2 separate regions of the Homo sapiens genome follow, and region 2 is linked to region 1. The links are contacts of gene promoters, found by promoter capture Hi-C in blood cells and fetal thymus (Javierre and others, 2016). All regions are on one chromosome and are shown on one strand. Each heading gives the region's core, a stretch centred on a gene start or on the middle of the fragment in contact. The rest is flanking DNA. Distances are from core to core; before and after follow the strand shown. Region 1 holds the start of PPP2R2A (protein phosphatase 2 regulatory subunit Balpha). Region 2 has its middle 52 kb from the start of CDCA2.

Region 1 (4,922 bases), core at 1,604-4,103:
GTTTTTTTTTGTTTTTGAGAGGGAGTTTTGCTTTTTGTCGCCCAGGCTGGAGTGCAATGGCTTGATATCGGCTCACCACAATCTCCGCCTCCCTGGTTCAAGCGATTCTCCTGCCTCAGCCTCCCGAGTAGCTGGGATTACAGGCACGCACCACCACACAAGGCTATTTTTCTTGTATTTTTAGTAGAGATGGAGTTTCTCCATGTTGGTCAGGCTGGTCTTGAACTCCCAACCTCAGCTGATCCACCTGCCTTGGCCTCCCAAAGTATTGGGATTACAGGCGTGAGCCACCGTGCCTGGCAAAAATGTTTTTTTAAGTGGAAGATAGATATGGAAGTGAGATGGACAAGAGCAACCCTTGACTCTGGGCTAGCGGGTGTTCTGGCCTCTCCTCCTAATGGCCATTCTGATGAAAGGGAGGTGGCTTATGGTCCTCTGAAAGGGCTGACCAGGGCCCAAAAAGAGCCAGGTCGTTTACACCAGGGTGCCAGGGTGCACTGGCCCTTGATTATCAGACCCAAGTCAGCCCATTCCACAGGCATGCAGTACCCCCAAGGCTCCAAATAATGTTCTTAAAACAGCACCTGGCACAAAGTCGGTGCTATATACATTTTTGTTATAATTATCCCAGTTTCTAGGCAAGCTTTATTGGCTTCTAAGAACAAATCATTTATGTAAACCAAATCATTTTCAGGGTATGTAAAGTCTATATTCTCTTTTTCTGTCTTCCTTTCTCTCTCTCTCCTTCCTTCTGGGTTCTGGTTAAGATGGAGAGCTCTCCCTGGAGAGTCTGGGATTGAACCACCAAAGAAGGGCAGAGCAAGCAAAAAGGAAAATAAATGAAGGCATACCCAGAGAAATACATTTATGAAAAACACCAGCATTGAAGAAAATACAGCACGCAGTGCACTGAAGTTTTGTACCTGTTGTACAGGTAGCCAAAAGATGACACATAGAGGGTGGATTTTTAGTTTTGATTAATTCATTGGTAACGTGGGAAATATTCATGCAGAAACAGAGGAATGATCATGCAGTGGTGCAGTTGTTCCTTTGAAGGAATTTTGAACGTTGCATTACAGTTCAACTGTCCTGGAAATCAAAAATATGGTAGAAAGTGGAGATGGTGGGGAGGACGTGTAAATATCTTTAACTCCCCCTTCTTGGTTTCCAAACGCCTTTATCACTCCATTCAGCCTTAGGCCAAATTCTGGATGCTTTTACAGGTGTTTTTCACGTGTAAAATGTGCATATCTATCTCCTAGGAGTATCGTGGAGATGGAATGGGATATGTAAAGTGTGCTGTATATAGCAACTGCATCATTAGAGCATCTTTCAACAGAAGTGCACATCCCCTCATAGCTGATGACTGGCATTTCCTGTTCATTTTTTTCCTTCTACCTCTTAACCTTACTGACGATGCTTTCAATACAAATCTAATAATAACGGCAGCTAACATTTATCATGTGCTCAAATTAAGTCATTTCATCTCCCCAACAATCCTATCAGGTAGGACTGTCATCTTCATCTCCTGAGCCTTGGAATCATATTAGGCAGCCTGGCTTCAGAGCCCAGCACTTTTTGTGTTTTTGTTTTTGTTTTGACAGGATCGCATTCTGTCTCCCAGGCTGGAGTGCAGTGATGTGATCACATAGCTCACTGCAGCCTTGACCTACTGGGCTCAAGCAGTCCTCCTACTGCAGCCTTCTAGTAGCTGGGACTATAGGCACGCCATCATACCTGGCTAATTTAAAAAAAAAAATTTTTTTTGGAGAGATGGGTCTCCCTATGTTCTCCAGGCCGAACTCGGAACTCCTGGCCTCAAGCGATCCTCCCACCTCGGCTTCCCAAAGTGCTGGGACTACAGGCGTGAGCCACCGCGCCCGGCCCTGAGCCCAGCTCTTAAGCACGCAGTCCAACACGTTTAGCTGGAGAGACGCCGGGTCACTTCTTGGGCCATACCCTCTCATCACAAACTCAGGTTTCTCTTAGAAATCACTCTTAGTGTCCGCAGTGCCTAGGACTCCCGCCTTGGATCCTGGGGCCCACGAGAAGGTAATTTAATTCACCCAGATAGAACCAGCCCAATCGTGTCCCTCTGAACCCCGTGAACTTTCACCCCGGCTGAGCAGTAAGTCTGCACCGCTGTCCCTTTCTTTGTGGTCTCAGGGCTAATCCAAAGTGACAATTTCCTAAGAAGCAGTACGGGGTTTTTTGTTTGTTTGTTTTTTGTTTTTGAGACGGAGTCTTGCTCTGTCACCCAGGCTGGAGTGCAGTGGTGCGATCTCGGCTCACTGCAACCTCTGCCTCCCGGGTTCAAGCAATTCTCACACCTCAGCCTCCCAAGTAGCTAGGATTACAGGCGCACACCACCACGCCTGGCTAATTTTTGTATATTTTTAAGTAGAGACGGGGTTTCACCATGTTGGCCAGGCTGGTCTCGAACTCCTGACCTTGTGATCCGCCCGCCTCAGCCTCCCAAAGTGCTGGGATTACAGGCATGAGCCACCGTGCCCGGCCCAGGTATTCCTAGAAGACATAGGACCCCATGAATCCTTGCAGGAGAGCACGTAAACTGGACTCCTAAGCCCGCCCCAGAGCCCCGGCGCTAGTGCTCGAGGCTGGGACACTGCTAGGTGCACACAGCCGCGGCCTGGCGCAGGCGGTGCGGACAGAGGGTATGCCATGGCGAGACGCTGGCGCGGCGCAGGCCCTGCCGGCCGGGACACGGAGGGCGGGGCACAGGCGCAGCAGGAAGGGGGCGTGGCCAAGAGCCGCCCGGCCGCTCCCCCGCCCCTCCCCCTCCGCTCTCCGCCCCAGCCCGGCGGCTCCGCCCCCTAGGTGACGTCACTGGCCAGGCCAGCCGGCGCCATTTTGAAAGTGGAGTCGCCTGCCCCTGCCGCTGCCGCCGCCGCCGTCGCTGTCGTAGTCGCCGCCGCCGCTGCCGGAGAAAGAGCACGAGCGGGGAAGCCCCAGAGTGAAATCTAGCATCCTGCCGGCTGGTCTGCCCGCCCCTCCTTCCTTTTCCCCCCGGCCCCCGTCCCCTCCCCCCGCAGGTGCCATCCGCCGCCATCCGCCCTCTCTACCCCCCCATCCCCAGGTGAGGGGGGTGAGTTCAGGAAGCGGAGACCCCGAGGAACCCAGCAGGGTCACCATTTGCAGCGCAACATGGCAGGTAAAGGAGAAATCCCCCTCGCCCCCTGACAAGGCACCGCTTCCTTATTCCTCCCTCCATCACCCCCTAGCGACCGCCCGCGCCTCGCGCAGAGCCACAGGGCGCCCCTCGGGTTTGAGGGAGTAGGGTCCAGAGGGGTGGGGTGGGGGCGGGGAGGGCTCCCGGGAGGCAAGTGGTCACGGTGAGAGTCACTGGGCTTGGAGAACGGGGCTGGCGCCGTGGCGGGGGTGGGGGTGGGGTGTGCCGGCGAGCTTGGGGTGAGGCGTGGGTGGGGCGGGGTGGGGGTGCGTGCAGATTTGTCCCTCCCGCTCGGGAGCCTGGTGGATCTTCTCCCACCTCCCCACCTTGCCCCCCGCCTTTATTTTTTTTTCCTGCAGGTCTTCATTTAATTTCTATTTTTCCCCCTGCTGCAAGCCTTCTTGGGTGTATATACACATTTATTTTGCCTCGAGAAGGAAGAGCGCCTTATAAGTTAAAATACAGTGGGGGCATATGTGTATTTTTTCCCCACTGTAGATGCCAATATTTTTGAGACTGGAAGCCTAAATTTTTTGTTTCGAACCATTTCGTTTCCGTTTCTTCCCTTTTACCGCCGAAGAGTGCAAGGCCTTTCATGTACAGCAAGTTGCATGAAAATAATTTAAACTTTGCGTTTAGCATGTTAGCTTTTTTGCAGATGTCCTTTTCCCAAAAGGGTTTGGTAGAGTTAGTTAAAATAGTTGCGGAGTTCAGAGATATAAATAGCAAGGAGGAGAGAGATTTAGGTAGAAGCTTTGAAGGGGAGGGGAAAGGATGTAGAGAGAAAACCAGTTTGGAAATAAATTTAGCAAGGAATAGGGGTGATGGGGGAGAGAGAAGTAATGTAATTGCTTTGAGAATTCTTTTTGTACATGTTGGTATTGCTAAATCTTTTCCTTCATGTAGTAGAATCAGTTGCAGATTTAGATTCAGTTTCTTTCTCCCTAGAGCCCCAGGACATTTTCAATCATTTCGACCTCAGTACTTGCACGTGAAATAGAAACATTCCGAGATGAGACCAGTTTTCCGTGCTGTATTCATTATTTAGATAATTAAACCTTTTGAAAAAGTTAACATGTCGGATTGACTTACGGTTTGCTATAAACAAGTTGCTTGTTGGCCTTGTTGAAAAATGAAATGAGATTAAAATTGTTTTGCACGAGATGACATTAGCAAAATGAATTCTTTGCCAGGTCCTTTGGAGTCAAGGGATGAGGTGAAGGGAGGCAGAACAAGCTTCCTTTGACAGTCTCTTTAGCAGCATTCATTTCGGTTTCTTTTCCTCTCTGTCTGGAGCCAGTGATTTGCTGGTAATGAATGCAAAGAAATGGGTGTAGTGTTTGCTGTGTGTGCACTTTGGTGATAAGGTTCATATGAATCATTACTCCTTACCCAGGCAGTAATGTTCCCGAAGTTTTCTCTTCGTTCTATGTTTCATGGTAGTTTAACCTTATTAACTCTTCTGCAGGCTTTTTGTACACTTAAGAAAACTCTTTAACTCTTGGTATTTACTTTTTTTCTGGTAGGTCTTGCCTGAATGTAAGGCTTTTACTGTATTTGACAGGAAGTTTGTGAACAGATGTTTAATGACCACAGAACATGTGCCTTTAAATATTTCGTACCTGGAATCTTTTTTTTCTTTCTAATGCAGTACCAAGTATTGGGGACTAACCTCTTTCCAAACTGGTGCTCTTGGTGGTAGTTGTATGTGTGGGCAGAACTAGGCTGTTAG
Region 2 (5,228 bases), core at 1,787-4,286, 780 kb before region 1:
CAGGTCTGGAACTCCTGCTGCTAAAGACTAATGTATTTTACATTAACACTCAAAGTGATCCCCAATTTCTTCTGCTCAAGGGTGGATTGTTTTTAAAATTCTTTTATCTTTACATGTAAATTATTTATAGACTTTTTTTTTTTCCATTTCTAGTTTGGTGTGGTTGGCAAATCTCTACCACTAAAAACAAGCTCACCACTCCCCCCACCCCAAAAAAATGAATGAATTAGCTTCTCTGAAGCTTTTTCGTTTTGCTGATTTTAAGAGAAAACTTTCAGAAACCTAATAAAATTGTTTTGCATTTCTACCTTGTCTAATATGAAGACTAACAACTAACTATTGATTGTTATTTCACTCCCTGTTTTCTATGATGATATATGATCACAATTGTATTTCAATTTTTAAAATTACACATGCTTTGTTTTATTTCTCAAAAAGTGCTAATGAGAATGAGGGAAACATTTCCAATCTGTGATTTGGGCATGGTTTTTCAAATGTGAAATGTTCTCTTTTTCTAGCAGCAGTTAAAAATGTAAACACACCGTTAGTTTCAAAATGTTTCATTATAAACATTTTGTTGACATTTGTCAATAACAAATAGGCATTTTTCCTAAAAAAAAAAAAAAAAATCTGAAAAATCAAAGCAAGTTAGATGCAGTTTTATCTACCAGGTCTCATTTGTACAAGATGTGTAAAACATTAATAATTTCTGTATTTGGTCATTCTTGTTTTTTGTTTTGTTTTGTTTTTTGTTGTTGTTGTTTTCCCATTTGTTTTCATTCATGGTTAAATCAAAAGCTTGGCTTCAAAATGGTTTTTTTTCCTGCCATGTTTTTTCGTTGCAGTAACTAACCCTTGTTCTTCCATCATGTTTCTGTTCCTGTAGATTCTTGTTTGTTCCAGAAGATGGCAGCACAACCTCTGAAGTTTTTCCTTCTCTGTGCATAACCTAATGGCTGTTGCCTGTGTGGCCCCCTATTTTTACTTTTTTCTTACATAAGTAGTATGTATCAATTGAAAAACACAGAACTGTACGGAATTTAAAAGTGGAAATATGGCATCTATCTTCCTTGCATTCCACGCAGGTGTCATCCAGCCACACCCTCCTCTCTGCAGCTCTCTCTGCAAGCACTTAACACCTGGCATGCACCTTCCAGACCTTTCTTGTATAAACATGCATGCATCGTTTTGTTGTTTTCTAACAGGATCACTATATGTGCCATTCTACCACTTGGTTTTTTTAATTCAACAAAATGCCATGAGTATCCTTTAGTCTTTTTATGGACAGCCCTAGTGCTGCTACTTCAGTCTTTTTTAACCCCTTCATATACCTTGAACATCTGTAATGAAGGTGGTCATCTCCTTACTAATGGATGAATGTCAGTTATCTCCAGCTTTTGCAATTATAGCAGTAAATGTAGCAAATACAAAGCCATATTGGGCTTGTTGAAAATATCTGTAAGATAAATTCCTTGAAATTAAAATGATTACGTTCTCTTCTGTGGATCTTAGCTGGCACATTCCCCTTACACACATTTTGGCATCCTTGCCTTCTTTCTGCCTCTCATTTTCTGTTCCTACTACTTAATGCCATTTTGCTTCCATCTTCTGTCACTACTGCCTCTACTTCCACTTAAGCTGCAGAATTGAGGGTGGGCCTTAGACCTGGTATGTGGAGGAGAGAATGATTAATTATACCTGGTTCATGCTTTAGATTGAAAGAGCTACCTTTCAAAGTCAAGTTTATTGAGGTATAATTAACCTACGGTGAAGTTCGCGTTTTTAAAGCATCCAGAATTTTGGCAAATTTATACAGCCATGTAACCAGTGCCACAATCAAGTAATAGGACATTTCTGTCACCCCAAAATTCCTCCCACCTCTTTGTAGTCAATTTTCTACCTGCCAACCCCGGGTCTTCACAACTGCTCATCTGATTTCTAGTGTTACAGTTCTGTCTTCTCCAGAATGTCATACAAATGAGATCATATAATATATACCCCTTTGTGTCTTTAGCTTAGCGTAATGCTTTTGAGATTCACCCATGCTTGCATGCTGTAAGTAGTTGATACTTGTTTATTGCTGATACTTGTTTATTCCATTTTATAGATGTACCAAAACTTGTTTATCAGTTTACCACTTGATGGATATTTCGATTATTTCTGGTTTGGGGCTAATGTGAATAAAGCTGCTGTAACAATTCACATATGGATCATTTTTTATAGTCACATGTTTTCATTTATCTTGCATAAATATCTAGTGGTAGGGTTCCTGGGCTGTATGGTGGTAGTATTAATATATGTTTACCTTTTTAGGAAACTGCTAAACTTTTCCATAGTGGCTGCATGATTTTGCATTTCCACTGGCAACACGTTTTGTTTGTTCCACATCTTCACCAGCCTCTGGTATTGTTAGCCTTTTTTCATTGTAGCCATTCTAGGATGTGTGCAGTAGTTTCTCATGGGTTTTGATTTATTTCTCTAATGACTAATGATATTGAACATCTTTCCTATGCTTATTTGCCATCTTTATATCTTCCTTGTTGTGATGTCTATCCAAATTTCTTGCCCACGTTTGTTGTTGCTGTTATTGTCTTACTGTTATTGAGTTAAAAGAATCTGTACATTTGGATACACATCCTTTATTGGATATGTCTCTTAAAATATTTTTTCCCATTCTGTGGCTTGTCTTTTTATTTGCTTAGCAGTGTCTTTTGAAGAACAGATTTTCATTTTGATGAAGTCCAGTTTACCTTGTTTTTACTTTAATGGTTCATGCTTTTTGTGTCCTAGCTAAGAAATCTTTGTCTAACTCAAAGGCACAAAGATTTTCTCCTGTGTATTCTTCCAGTTCTATAGTTTTAGCTCTCACTTAAGTGTTAGATCCACATTAATTTTCTTGTGTGAGATGAAGGTGGGTTATTTATTTTTAATGGAAATCATTCAACACCATTTGTTGAAAAGATTAACCATTTCTCATTGAATTACATTGGCACCTCTGTTAAAATTATTTGACCTTATATGTGTAGATCTATTTCTGGACATTATTCTGTTCATCTGTATGTCTATTCTTCTACCAATATACCACTGTGACTATATAAGAAAGTTTTGGATTTTTTAAAATCATAGTTTAGGGGTTTTTTTGGAGGGTAGAGAGGAGGCCAGAAGAAGCAAAAGGTTGACCAGCCACATCTGTCTGGGGCCTTCAGTTATTCCCAGACTTGTAGTACCATTTGGGTGCAAGAAGTGAAGCCAGCAATGACAGGCTATCAGAGACACAACAAGGAAACCAACTTCTCTGGGTGCCTCTGCGTTCAGCCTAGTCCTCTGGAAACTAGTTTACTATGGTTTATGATTTAAAATTTGACCCTAAGTTACTAAAAGATTCAGTCATCAAGAAGTAATTCTCTCTCTGGACACTACTCTGTATAGCAGTAAGAAAATAAGGTGAATTAAAATAAGATTCAAAATTCAATTTGCTAAAAAATTACCTAATAAGCATGACTCATTTATTTTCATAAATTGAAGTTTGTATTATAGTTTGATTTAGTGTAAAACTTAGCCAGGCATGGTGGCTTACACTTGTAATCCCAGCACTTTGGGAGGCCAAGGCAGGAGGATTACTCGAGCCCAGGAGTTTGAGACCAGCCTGGGCAACACGATAAGACCCTTCCTCTACAAAAAAAAAAAAAATTTAAATTAGCTGGGCATGGTTGGTTTCAGCTACTCTGGAGGCTGAGGTAGGGAGGATCGTTTGAGCCCAGGAAGTTGAGGCTACAGTGAGCCATGTTCGTGCCACTGCACTCCAGCCTGAGTGACAGCGAGACCCTTTCTCAAATAAATAATAAATGTCACTGTCCTTACTCAGTAACCTTAGCATTTGAGGATTGTTTCCTAATGTAGGAAAATTTTCCTGCACCAGCTCATTCTAGGTAGGCAGATTATGGACTCATTAATAAAATAATTTGCCAGCCATTTATTCAACAACTACTATGTGCCAGGCATTAATTTCTAAATAAAATTGCTTTCAAGATGCTCAGTTTTCTTTCTGTAAGGGGACAAAATTACAATACAGGGTATGATAAAAAAGAGATACCCCAACCTGTCAGCCCTCCAGGGGGTATCAACCTTCAGATCACGCAAGTTTAGTTTCTTTCCAGAATAAGTGATGCTTGAGCCAAATTCACTAATAGGAGTTTTAGAGGAATGGGGACCCAAAAGGCACATCCCATTCCAAATCTCCTTTGATTATTATTCAATAATTTCATTATTCATTAAACTGAGACTAGGTGATACAGGCTGGCTTCATCTCATGTTTTTCTTTTAAGTATTTTTTAACTTTCATTAAATTCTAACCTATAAATACATCTGGAAAAGCATGGATTTGAAACTAGACTACAAGTTGTGAATTGTACCTAAAATTTTAAAGAAACCTGCTCTGTTCTCAATTGCTTAGGCATTTCTGTCTCATACTATTGGGTGTCTTTGTAGTGTGTCTAAAGGGTTTCACTGTGGGTTTGGAGTCCTAGACCAAGTGAGTGGAATTGGGATTAAATTACAGCAAATAATTGTACATCCCCCTTTTGGGGTGTCTTAAATTTATTTGAAGATTATTGCATAGCCTTGATTTAGCTCTAGAATGGGTTAATTACTAACATACTATGGCCTAATAGTTTCAAGTTTGTCTAATATTGTGCAGGTGTGTTCATTTTTGCATATTCTTTGATGCTTTTCTGTTTATGAAATTGTGTTACAGACTGCGAGTAACATAGCTTAAATGAGAAGATAAGTAATTACTGCCTTTCAACTGATACATATTTCTGTTCCACATCTTCAACCAAGATCATACTTAGCCTGATTTTGATATGACCTTAAAGATTTATTAGAAAGGTTTTTAGAAATTTCTAGGCAATTGAGAAGCAAATATTTTCTGAAACTGCTTTTAATTTTTTGATACTTTGTAAGCGTTATATCTCTTACATGAAAAGAGAAAATAAATAAGCATTTACATTAAAGAAGAATACAGGTTTGCATTTTCTAAAGGGTAAGTTGGGATTTCATCACAAAATTTCCGGTGACCACCTGGAAAGCTGACTAAGTCTTTTTCTCATTTATCCTAGGCATACAAATTGACTATCTTGATTTATGTTCTGTGATAATAAGTTGCCTTCAGGGATGCAAACAGCTAACATTTTGGTTTTAGATGTAATTGAAGAAATGTCAAATTATCT

The links. Contacts are between HindIII fragments. The CHiCAGO score rates a contact against its expected background, and 5 or more counts as called.
Region 2: a contact is called between a fragment that was not itself captured here and the fragment with the promoter of PPP2R2A in region 1, in 4 of 17 cell types (total B cells, megakaryocytes, naive B cells and 1 more). The highest score is 7.2, in total B cells.

Annotation. Positions count from the first base shown.
Region 1 is chr8:26,288,655-26,293,576 of GRCh38, forward strand. PPP2R2A (protein phosphatase 2 regulatory subunit Balpha) reads left to right here and starts at 2,854. Exons shown (of 10, transcript NM_002717.4): 1 at 2,854-3,172. The coding sequence starts at 3,166. RefSeq lists a silencer at 2,656-3,005. The HindIII fragment of the contact is 3,300 bases long and covers 642-3,941 here.
Region 2 is chr8:25,509,107-25,514,334 of GRCh38, forward strand. No RefSeq gene overlaps it. Among named protein-coding and RNA genes, the nearest start is that of CDCA2, 52 kb to the left of the region's middle. The HindIII fragment of the contact is 4,480 bases long and covers 797-5,228 here.